Linked DNA regions of Homo sapiens: region 2 is linked to region 1. Evidence: promoter capture Hi-C in 16 types of primary human blood cells and fetal thymus (Javierre and others, 2016). All regions are on one chromosome and are shown on one strand. The core of a region is centred on a gene start or on the middle of the fragment in contact, and the rest is flanking DNA. Distances in the headings are between cores, read along the strand shown. Region 1 holds the start of PDK3 (pyruvate dehydrogenase kinase 3). Region 2 has its middle 33 kb from the start of SUPT20HL1.

Region 1 (5,686 bases), core at 1,463-3,962:
ACCACCTTGCCCTGCTAATATTTTTGTATTTTTAGTAGAGACGGAGTTTTGCCATGTTGCCCAGGCTGGTCTCCAACTCCTGAGCTCAAGCAACCTGCCCGACTCTGCCTCCCAAAGTGCTAGGATTAGACGCCCCAGGAGTTTGCATTTCTAACAAGTTCTCAGGTGATGCTGCTGCCGCAGGTCCAGGGATTTCACTTTTGAAAGCCACTGGGAGTGGGGTCTGCACTAGACCTTGGTGTGTACAAGGAGTTGAAAAAAGTTCATCAAGATCTATTTATCAACACACTGGTGTCACTTCTGGCCTCTGCAAGTTATCATGAAAGTATTAGGTAAAAATATATGCATTGCTGTACACAGGAGGTACAGTACCTTGTATTTATATTACATGTGGTTTATTTCATTTGACTGTCACAAATGCCAGGGAGATAAATCAGGTATCTTAATCTGACATAAAAATAAGCGTGACGCAGACAGGCTAGGTGACCTTAGCCTTGTCTAAGCACATTTTACATTATATAGGGCTCTTTCATATTGTTCCCAACTTCTAGGACTTTGTCACCTTTTGGAAAAGCAGAAATAAAATTAGGCACATGAAAGTTTAAATAATCAAATCAACAGAATGGATTTTAAGTAGCATTTTGTGCAGTGGAAAAGGAAGAAGTGAAACAAGCGATTTGCAAGCTCAGAAAGATCAGCGCTTTGTTGCTTAGGCTGAGAAAATCTCCCTCTCCACAAACATCCAGCTTCTTCCTGCTCACTGACAACTGCCACCAATTATCGCTCCACTTCCAGGTAGCACCTGAAAGTCACTTTAGGAACCACAGGCCACTGGTCTTCTCTTTGTCTGCCCATGCACACCAACTGGATTACTTAGCTCTTCTGGTAAAGCTCCTGGTTAAATAAGTTGTTAGTATGTCTTTTTTAATGCTTTGATTTAATTTGAATGGAAAAGACATGGTAGTCTACATACTTCTACCAAGATGAAGATGACCAAGATGTTCTTGAAAATCCAAAAGTCTAGAAGACCACTGGATGTCTTTTTTTTTGAGATGGAGTCTTGCTCTGTCGCCCAGGCTGGAGTGCAGTGGCACGATCTCGGCTCACTGCAAGCTCCGCCTCCCAGGTTCATGCCATTCTCCTGCCCCAGCCTCCTGAGTAGCTGGGGCTACAGGGGCCCGCCACCACGCCCGGCTAATTTTTCGTACTTTTAGTAGAGCTGGGGTTTCACCACGTTAGCCAGGATGGTCTCGGTTTCCTGACCTCGTGATCCGCCCGCCTCGGCCTCCCAAAGTGCTGGGATTACAGGCGTGAGCCACCGCACCTGGCCGAGGTCTTTTACTGTGTATGTTACTTTTCTTTACATTCAGAGTAGAGATGCAACTATTTTATTAAGCAAAGAATTGGCTGCATAAACGTCCACTGAAGGCACAAAAGCTAAATAGCTACCCACCAATAATCTCATTCAGTGAGAAAACTAGTCCAATCAGAGACCCAAGGAGTGGCTTCCAGTCACATTTGTACCTTTCCTTAAAGAACATTCTTCCTGTCCTTTTAGTTACATATGTTTATGTTTACATATTGCCAAAAAAAAAAAAAAAGCCAAGGTTTGGTGGAAATGGCTAAAGTAAGCTGTACTTTATTCACTCATAATAGGAAATAACAATTTCATATACTGAGCCCTGAGTTCAAGTTCACTTTTTTTTTTTTTTGAGAGGGGGGTCTGGGTATGTTGCCTAGGCAGATCTTGAACTTTTGGGCTCACGTGATCCTCCCACCTCCGCCTGCAGGGTCGTTGGGACTATAGGTGCATGTCACCATGCCAGGCTCTCAAGTTCACTTGAGATAAAGAATACCCAACACTGTGTAAGCATAGACTCCTGTCCAAAAGTGGTGGTGAAGCGTGAAGGGGGCTGTCCTATGGTGGTGGTGTAGAGAAGGGGTATGAAAGAAAGTGCCAGTGACCTTACATTTGATCCTTTCCAATGGTAGTAGTGGGGTGGGGGGGTATGAAACAGAGTCAGTGACCTTGCAATTATCCTGTCCACTGGCATTGGGGAGGTAGGGGGTGTTATTGACCCTTGACCTCACAATGGATCCCGTCCAACGGTGGTGGTGGGGGGACATGAAATGCAATCAGTCACTTAATCTTGTGCGGGAAGGAGGGGAAAGGAACCACGAAAAAGAGAATCAGCGAACTAACAATCCAGTCCAAAGGTGTTCCAAAGGTGTTCTCTTGGGAGTCAGGCAGGGAGGTGGGGGTGGGGCTGGGCCACGAAACAGAGTCAGTCTAGTTAGGCTGTAAAATCTAAGTGTCAGGATGCAGCGAACGGCAAGTCCTCCTCCCGGAAAAGGCGCCTGCGGTTGAGAAGGGTCTTGAGCAGCGCGGAGGATCGGATTCCGGGCTCCTGGCCTCTTCCCGGTCCGCGGGCACCTCGGCTACCTTTCGGCAGCGGAGAACCCAGCCAGAGGCGGAGCTGAAAGCGGCTGCACTTGCTGGGCTGGGCTGAGTCCCATGAGCCAGGGAGGGGGGTCTCTGGCGCCGCGCCCGGACAAAACACAAACGTCACAGAGGCAGCGGCGGCCAATCAGTGGAGGGCGCGCGCGGCCGCGTGCCCCTCGCGCTCCTCGCCTCCCCTCGCGCGCCGCGTACGTGCAGCAACCGACTCCGCCCAGCGAGGCGGAGCCTAGGGAAGCCGCGGGCGGCCCGCCGCTGTCCTGGAGCTGCTGCTGCTGCTGCGGCGGCTGCACCGGCGGCGCCGAGGCCGAGATCGAGGCCGGGGTGCGCGCTTCGCAAACGTGCCCTATCCGTGCGGCTTGGCTGCGCCAGCCCTTGCGGCCACCCGGGCGTCTAGGCGGGTCTGTGCGCCGCCCGGGCGAGGATGCGGCTGTTCCGGTGGCTGCTGAAGCAGCCGGTGCCCAAGCAGATCGAGCGCTACTCGCGCTTTTCGCCGTCGCCGCTCTCCATCAAACAATTCCTGGACTTCGGTGAGTACGGGGCCAAGGGTCCCCATGGGCCCGGGGCCGCCGCCATTCGGGCTGCCACCCCGGATCTCCGCAGCTTCGGGGTAAAGTCTGTGGGAACCGCAGGCGGGGCTAGGGAATATCCGGGGGGCTCTCCTGGGGCTCGGATTTCGGGGCGCGGAGGGGCAGGGCCTGGCCCCCTCGCACCCAGCCTGGGACTTACCCGGAGACACAGAAACGGCGTCTCATTGCAGGACCCTCATCGCAGGCGAGACTCCCCAAACCTGCGGTCGTTAGCTTCAAATCTGCTTGACACAAACCTCACAGCCCTTAAAACTTCAGAACGAGATGTGGGTGGCTTTTTAATGTTTTTATTTTTAGAATTTTTTTTTTTTGGTTGGGTAAGAACTGTTTAGAAATACCTTGAGGTTGAATAAATTATGCAATGGCATTTTGTTCCTTTTCTGCTCTAAGGTGTTGCTGTGTGGCTGGAGTGGCAGGACTCGAACTGTTGTCTTCATCAGGTTATGTTAAATCAGTTAGAGGCCTGGCCTGCAGACGCCTTAGATGCTTGGGAAGAGCGGACGTCTGGGATCCTAGCATCAGAGCAGGGTCTAATACAACTCTGGCTTTAGTGCCAGCACCTTTCGTTTCTCTTCTCCATTGGTGTCCCACCCACATTCTCCCTGTCCGGTGGGCTGGTGGGCGGCTTTCACGGATTGAGGTGGGACCAAAGAAGATTCGGGTTCCCAGCCTGCCTCAGGCCTAGCTGAGATGGGAATAGATTCCACCACCTTCTGTTAACTGAATCATGTTTCCCCAGAAAACGAAGGAGCTGGTTGTGAAACACCTAAAAGTAAAACGCATGCATTGAGGTATCAGAATGGAACTCAGCATCCCTGGAGGAAAATCAAATCCAGCAGCAAAGATGTTCTAAGCTCTCCAGGGGAAATCGTAGGGTGTCTGTTCATTTAATGAATTTTATGTAAATGTCAAGGGTGTCAGTGATAGTGTCAGTTGGGCATAAAAACTAAAGTGCAGAGTAGGTAGAACATTTGAGGAAGACCTGATATGCAAAAAGTGATGTCCATACTTTTTTTTTTTTAAAAGCTAGGATAGGAAGAGAGGAATAGGTTAAAGTTGAGACCAAATTAAAATTTTAGAAGCCAATTTGCCAGAGAATGATGATGAAAGTCAAAGTTCAATGACACGTTGATTTCTGCATCTTCAAACTTCACTCCCAAAAGCTATTGGTAGTTTTACTTACTATCTCGAGAATTGTAGAGGTTTGAGGCAGTTTCTGACTTTAGAGTTTAGAAAATGTTGCTATTGCTATAAATATAGGCAAGTTTTCCATCTTTATGGTTTAGGGAAGATTCTGAAGGTATCAGCCTTTCATTAGTGTAAACTGAAACAGGATAATTCACAATAAAAGGAACAAAAGGAATCCAGAAACTCCCAGTTCTTTCCACCCTCAAAGTTTAAGTGATAGCTCCAATAGCCAGCCAAAATTTTGGTTAGTTGATTTCCATAGCAGCTAGTGTCTACCCGTGTTAATAGGTATTTTGGTAAGGATGTTATGTGAGTAGGAAAACCACAGTGGAGGATAGTGTTATCATGGAAAACCTGTGAGGCCAGTATCTGGAAACAAATGTTCTAATTCTGGCTCTGCCACTAGCTCAGAATGTGGCCTTGACTAAGTGACCAAACCTCACTTGGGGTTCATTTTCCTCATTAATAAAATGAGTAGATTGTATCAGGCGATCTTTAAAAGCACAGCTCACCACTATACGATTGTGATTTCAAAGGAAGAGGCATGAACTTTCTAAAAGAAAACTACCAAATCTTTTGATAGATATTTCCTATAAAAGTCTTCTGACCTATTTTGGGAGGGGTGGAGGGATTCACTAAGGTCATGAGAGAAGCATAATAATTTAAGGTTTTCCTTATAAGGAAGCGCACAGAAGTGCTAGATATAGTTGTAGTGGAATTTGCTAGAAGTGACAAGGCTAGTTTGTAACACCCAGAGATGAATCAGGTGCTAATCAGCCTATCTTTAATGACAGGACAACTAAAAGACGGGAGTTGTTGCAAAAAGGCCATCTCTACTTCTACTTTTCTCTTAGTTCTGTCTCTTGATAGCAGTTCTATTTTGGCAATTGATGTGGGAGTTGGAGAATTCAGAATGGGTGTGGGATATTTTTAAGGTGAGGAGAGAGGAGGAGTGAAGAGGCTTCATGCCCCTGTATGATTAGAGAAAACTGCAGGAGAGGGCCAACTCAGGCACTTAAAGCACCAGGTAGTGGGCAGTGGATAAGTGAATGAAGCCAACGAGTTGAGGACCGTGATAAATTCCTGGTATATAGCTAGCTCCAAAGGGGCAGCTGATTGGCACCAATTCAGTATATTTCAAGAGAACTTTGGCATAAACAAAATAGATGGATGGATCAAGTTGGCCCACAGGCTGCTAGTTTATGAACTTGATGCCTTTCTCCATGGGTACTTTACAAATGGGACGTACATTTTGACTAGAGTAACTAGACAGGGACCAGAGAAAGGAGATACACAGGATATACACAATTTGTTACAACCTTGATAAATAGGCTTTCTTATGTGGATGTACTGCACATCAGTAAATAAGGAGATTATTTGCTATGTTCAAAAGTGGAGGCTAAAACTTGTTGTTACTTCAGAAGCTGTGCTTTTATTTTAAAGCAGGGGT
Region 2 (6,554 bases), core at 764-3,263, 73 kb before region 1:
ATTGGGCCTGTGTACACACAAGTTGATCGTATAGTATCTGAGATTTAGACAACCTGCTGGTCATTGTCTGTGATGGTGGTGAACGAGGAGGAAGAAGAGGAAGTCTGGGCCTGTAGTCAAAGGAGGTGATTAAAGGACCAAGGACAGGGCAGGAGGAAATTGGTGAAGAATATGATCAATCAATATACAGGTACATACAGAGCACATTCTGTCCTAGGGAGAAGCTACAAGTGGTATGAAAAGTTGGATCCACTCCCAAAGGGCTTACTATGTCTGGGGTGAGACAAGATACGGTCACATGAAGTGCGTGGTAAACAAGATACGCCATAATGTCACAGTTATGCCAAATGCCATAATTTCAAAGTTATGCCAAACATCATAATGTCAAAGTTATGTCAAATGCCATAATATCAAAGTTATGCCAAACAGATAAATACAATGCATCTCCAAGAAGGGAGAAATCCACCTTGGCCCCAGACATCAGAACCAGACTGCCTGGATTGATTGCTGGCTCTGCCACTTACTGGTTGTGTGACCTTGGGCAAGTCACTTGCTATCTATATGCTCAGTTTCCTCATGATAAAATGAAATGATAAATGTGCCAATATTATAGGGTTGCCATGAGCATTAAATGACATATGTGAGAGTGCTTAGAACAGTGCCTGGAATACATAAGTGCTAATTAAATATTAGCTGTCATTGAAGGGGGAGAGGAAACGGTAGAGTAGGAAAAAGGGCATTAGCTTTCATAACCTACATCCATCCAGGCACCTTCTTTAAATATAACTTAAACTCCTTGTGATCAATTTGATACTGAGTAGAACTGTTATTTATGGTGTAATTAGCTACTCTCAAGTTCACTTATGTAGCAAAAGTCAGGAAAAAGTAAGGAAAATAGGTTCTTAGGTAAATGTCCCCAGAAGTAGACCTTCAGATGAGGATTCACAAGCAAGTGATTTATTAAGGACATGCTCCCAGGGGAGGCAGGGAGGGAATGGAGGACAGGACAGAGAAGGGGAGGGAGCTAAGCAAATAGATTATCTTTTTTTTAAAATTTTTATTATTATTATTATACTTTAAGTTTTAGGGTACATGTGCACAATGTGCAGGTTAGTTACATATGTATACATGTGCCATGCTGGTGTGCTGCACCCATTAACTCGTCATTTAGCATTAGGTTTTTTTTTTTTTTTAATTACAAATAGATGATCTTAAGTGAAGTCACTGCCCCAGCCCGATCCCACAGGGGAGCTCTTGGGGGTAAGTTACACCCCTTTAGTGTACCACAAATCCAAACAAGGCAGCTGGACTTTGAGATGCTCACACCTGCTGGTCATTGGCTAAATTCCACCCCAGGGAACCTAAACCTCCAGGCACCATGAGCAAAGCAGTGTCAAAAGTCCACGCGGGCAGGAAAAACATACAGAATTTCAGGGAAGGCCACTCAGAAACAGGAAAAGGGTGGCGCCATTTGAATGAAGCAGCTGCTATCGTCCACTGAATATTATGGGTTTTGCTGAACAAGGCTGGGCAAAGAACTTACTGGGGCAAATTGGTGCTGCTAATTGGTGACCACCCAAACTTCCAAACAGTGGATCTCAAACTTCAGGCTGTGTAAGATCCCCTGGAAGTCGTTTAAAATGTAGATTCCTGGGCTTCATCTCCAGAAATTGTAATTCAGTGGGTGGGACTCAGGAAACTTCATTTTCAACATGCTCCCTGGGTAATTTGGATGTGGGGATCCTTGGACCATGCCCTGAGAATCACTGCCTTAGGGGACTGGCAGGAAGGTGTTGAGGTTGAGTGGTCAGGCTGGCTCACAGGCAGGGTTCCCAGTAGTGCTTAATGTTATCAGCAGTGCGCTGGTGAACAGACATGGAAAAGTGTGGAAACCGCTTCATGACTACCTTCCTGGGGAGGCACAAAACAAGACGGCTTGTCCCAAGTAGGGTGCAGAAAAACAATTTCCCTGGAGTGGCCATTGTGTGAGCCCTGAGGGAAAGGGGAGCAAGGGATGTAATTTAAAGAACTACAATCAGGGAGTGTCTTCAGCTAATTCCCCTAGAAAGCCTGAGACTAGGATCTGAGTTCAAGTAGTTTACTTGGAAGAGATCCCAGGAAGCACCAGTATGGAAGTGAGAATTGGAGGGACAGGGCAGAGAAGGCAGGTAGTCAGTACAGGATATGTTACCAGGCTGGGCGCGGTGGCTCACGCCTGTAATCCCAGCACTTTGGGAGGCCGAGGCGGGTGGATCACGAGGTCAGGAGTTTGAGACCAGCCTGACCAACATGGTGAAACCCTGTCTCTACTAAAAAATACAAAATTTAGCCGGCCATGGTGGCGTGTGCCTGTAGTACCAGCTACTCAGAAGGCTGAGGCAGGAGAATTGCTTGAACCCCGGGAGGCGGAGGTTGCAGTGAGCCGAGATCGCACCACTGCACTCCAGCCTGGATGACAGAACGAGACTCCATCTCAAAAAAAAAAAAAAAAAAGAAAAAAAAAAAGGATATCTTACCGGTGTCAGCAGCAGACCACTGTTGGCAACTGGGGTTTGATCCTGCTGGGCACATCTGAGAGACCATGCAAACACATGCTTGAGTTGTCCCACTTGGGGTGAGAAGCTGGGGCATTTTGCCATTGCCGCTTCCTGAAACTTCTGGCATACCCTGGGTATTTGGTGAGCACCCCCCTGCAGCTGGAAAAAGCCCCAGGCAGAGTTGCAGATGCTTGCAATAGAAAGCTATCAGCATGTACAAGGCTGGTGAGTGCTGAGCGGATACTGGCAGGACTCCTATAGCGTCTGCCAGAGGGAGTGGAAATTGTTCATTTCACAAACAAGGACGATTTCTCACACGAAATTGCCTGCTGCCTACAGGGCTTATGTTAGGTGGATCTGCTTGTCTGCAGTGGTCCTCTGTCCCTTAGCTGCATGTTCTGATGCCTTCAGTCTGGCCAGATTTCTGGGAAAATCCCAGCCAAAGGATTGTAAGAGGTCCAGGTCCTCTAGTTCATGAGGTTCTGAAGATGTGTGCTGCTGGTGGCCCAGGAATTAGCTTCTACCCACCCTGGCCTTGCACATTTTCTGTTCACTGCATTGCTAGCTATTGGAGCCACATCTGATCTCCAAAAATCCATGCCTGCCACCATTGCACCAGGCCAAGCCCAAGAGGAGAACTGTAAGACAGTCAGCATTTGTAGAGTTCCTTCTTGAACTGTCCTTCCTATCCATTTCTTTCTAGTTTCATCACCAGCCTTGATCATTTGTCACTGTCCCTTTTGTTTAACTGTCATTACCTCACAGTGCTGATGAAGCCATGAGGAGAACTGATATACCAGTGCTAATGATCATCAATGAGGTGATGGTGGAGGTGACAGGAAACAGGAGAAAATGACAAGGACAATTTGACATAGCCAAGAAAGGGATCCCCAGGCATGTCCACAGAGTTTGGGAAAGAACACGTCAAAAAATTTACCAAAAAAATATGGTCATGAGCTCATGGCTGGAGAGTCCAAAAACCAGAGATGAGCAAGAGAAAATGATTGCTGAAGAATTGTTCATAATATATAACCACAGAGGAAGCTGGAGAGGAGAGGAATGGGGTGGATCTAAAGAAGCCGTCGAGGCTTCAGCTCTTCAATAGCTTTGATTTTGAAGGGATATGTATAGAAACAGAAACCAGACATCAGTAAAGAATCAACACAAATCATGTCAAAAGTTTATCAGATTGGAAATCAAAAGATAGAATGGCCCAGATTTTCAGAAAGTCTAATGTCAGCAATACAAAAATCATTTGTGCTACATTTAGACCAGAAATAAAATAAGGAGAAAATAGGTCTGCTTGGGGTGAGTGAAGTGATACAAGCAAAAGACCACGAGAAAGAACCGTACAATTCCTAGTTTGTTTCCCCCTTTTTCTTATTGTTTATTAAAGAGAATGCTCTTTAAACTGGAAATGGTGAAAGACTCTTGGTTAAAGAAGAGAGAGAGGCAGAAATAGAAAAGAGTGTGAGTGTTTTGAACAAGTTCAAATAAGGCAATCTGTAGGTGGAAGGGGCTGTCATTGGGGGTAGTGCATTCAGTTTTGTATGTCAAGTTTTCAAAGAATCACTGTCTCTTATAAAAAGGGGACAGGGTACCTGGGAAATGAGGTCTCTGAAAGTCATGGCAAGTGAAAGCTGTAAGTGCTAGGTAGGTATAGTCTGGCAAGGGGGAGACATGGAGGAAGGACATCAAGCTAACACAAAAGATGCAAAGGGATGACATTTGGAAAAGGTCTGGACCAGGCTGTGGTAGGGTAGAGAGTAGAACTAAGCCCAGTGGGTTGACATTCCATTGACAGTCCAACGCAGTATGAAACTTCTGAATGCTTAGAAGCAATTAGCATTAAACAACTGCCTCAAGGTAGTGGTGTCTCTACAACAGTAAAGTTTAACCTGAGAGTAACTGAATCTGTCAAGGCTGTTGTAGACAGAATTTTTGTAGAGGATATGAGGCTAGGATCTCAAGCATTCTTTCTTTCTTTTTTTTTGAGACAGAGTCTCACTCTGTCGCCCAGGCTGGAGTGCAGTGGCACGATCTTGGCTCACTGCAACCTCTGCCTCCCGGGTTCAAGTAATTCTGCCTCAGCTGCCCGAGTAGCTGGGATTACAGGTGCCTACCACCATGCCCGGCTAATTTTTGTATTTTTAGTAGAGATGGGGTTTCCCCATGGTCAGGGGGTTTCCCCCCTGACCATGTTGCCCAGGCTGGTCTCGAACTCCTGGCCTTAAGTGATCTGCCCACCTTGGCCTTCCAAAGTGCTGGGATTATGGGCATGAGCCACCACGCCTGGCCCCAAGCATTAGTTCTTAATCTTCTTTAGGCCACGGACTCTTTTGATAATCTGATAAAAATGATAGATTCTCTATGTATTAAAATGCCGGTATGTGCCAACACTACTCTTTATGTTCAATTTCAAGGAGTTCATTTTTCCTAAAGCAGGACTATGGTCCCCAGCTTAAGCCCACCTCTAAAGGGATTCTTCTATCTCTAAAATGCAGCGATTCTAAGTCCTTTCTATAGAAGTTGTATTTTCATGAATCTTTCCTCAGTGACCCTTTGTAAACCTTTTTTTTTTTTTTTTTTTTTTTGAGACAGAGTTTCACTCTTGTTGCCCAGGCAGGAGTGCAATGGCGCGATCTCGGCTCACCGCAACCTCTGCCTCCCAGGTTCAAGCAATTCTCCTGCCTCAGCCTCCCGAGTAGCTGGGATTACAGGCATGCGCCACCACGCCCGGCTAATTTTGTATTTTTAGTAGGGACGGGGGTTTCTCCATGTTGGTCAGGCTGGTCTCGAATTCCTGACTGCAGGTGATCTGCCCACCTCGGCCTCCCGAAATGCTGGGATTACAAGTGTGAGCCACTGTGCCCGGCCTGTAAACATTTTTATGGCTTGATACAAAAAAAGGGGGGTGCTGAGTGTGCTATTTTATGAAACTAGCTGAATGTTCAGGCCGACCAAACATTCTGTCTCCTGATGTATGACTTCCACATTATGGCAGCACTTAAAAATTTTAAACCATCTCTCAGCACCTGTGTGTTTGACACCCACCACACACTATCTAATGCCAAGTCGCAAAGGTTCAACTTTGTAAATCGAAGGACTGATTCAACTTTGTAAATCAAAGGACTGATTCACAGTTATTTGCCTCTTGTTTCCAGCTGTGGTCTGCATCAGGTCGAAGAAATGTTGTAATACACAGAAGCACCACAAGATGACACCCTTGGGAAAGTCTTGCTTTGCAGGTTGGTTTCCCAGCTCTGACGTCTATTCTAAACATAGCCTTACAAAATGCTTGTGGAAGAGGGAAGAGAATCTATTACTGGGGAGGAAAAACACCAATGACAAAACAACCCTGGCACTTTCCTGAGTTTTGGGATACAGAGTCAAGTCTTGATTACTTTCTTCTGCTTCTTAATTATCAGTTTTTGCAGGCAGACACATAGATTTATGTAACACATAAGCATATCTTTCATACACATCTATTTTCTGCCGATGCTGATGCTCTATGTGATTTAGAAGCTGTTCATAACTTGGGAGAAGAGCCTTTCTTCTTTTGTATTGTAAGCTTTCACATCCACTTTTTTTATTGCCTCTGTCCCCTACTTCACTGTCAGTAAGAATATTGGGTTTGCATGGAAACATCATAAAATGCCTTTATGGAAAGAGGAAAGTGTGGTTAGACCAGCTTTTTCTGCCATGAATATCAGGCCAACTGGAGAGAAGATCAAAGCGAAAGGTGAGGGCAGAGTGGGCTAGGATGGAAAGCGGGATTACTCACTGAAATTGACATGTCTGTTCAATCCTTTTGCTCCCTCCAAATTTTTCTTAAAAAAGCAATTAAAAAAACCCCATGTTCATGCTACATTAAGCCTCATGTTTCCATTTCTCATTTTACTGCTTGAGTGGCACTTGCTATCACTTGGTAAGCTTACTTAAGAGAGGGAACAATGTCGATTAGAATACAGTTGTCTGTGTTGAGTAAGAGCCCTCCGTTGGTTTGTGGTCTTTGGC

What was found. The method cuts DNA at HindIII sites, captures the fragments that hold promoters and counts their contacts. A CHiCAGO score of 5 or more calls a contact.
Region 2: a contact is called between a fragment that was not itself captured here and the fragment with the promoter of PDK3 in region 1, in 1 of 17 cell types (naive CD4 T cells). The highest score is 5.7, in naive CD4 T cells.

What each region holds. Positions count from the first base shown.
Region 1 is chrX:24,462,574-24,468,259 of GRCh38, forward strand. It overlaps PDK3 (pyruvate dehydrogenase kinase 3), which reads left to right and starts at 2,713. Exons shown (of 11, transcript NM_005391.5): 1 at 2,713-2,988. The coding sequence starts at 2,883. RefSeq lists a silencer at 2,454-2,773. The HindIII fragment of the contact is 17,643 bases long and covers 1-5,686 here.
Region 2 is chrX:24,390,197-24,396,750 of GRCh38, forward strand. No RefSeq gene overlaps it. Among named protein-coding and RNA genes, the nearest start is that of SUPT20HL1, 33 kb to the left of the region's middle. The HindIII fragment of the contact is 8,185 bases long and covers 1-6,106 here.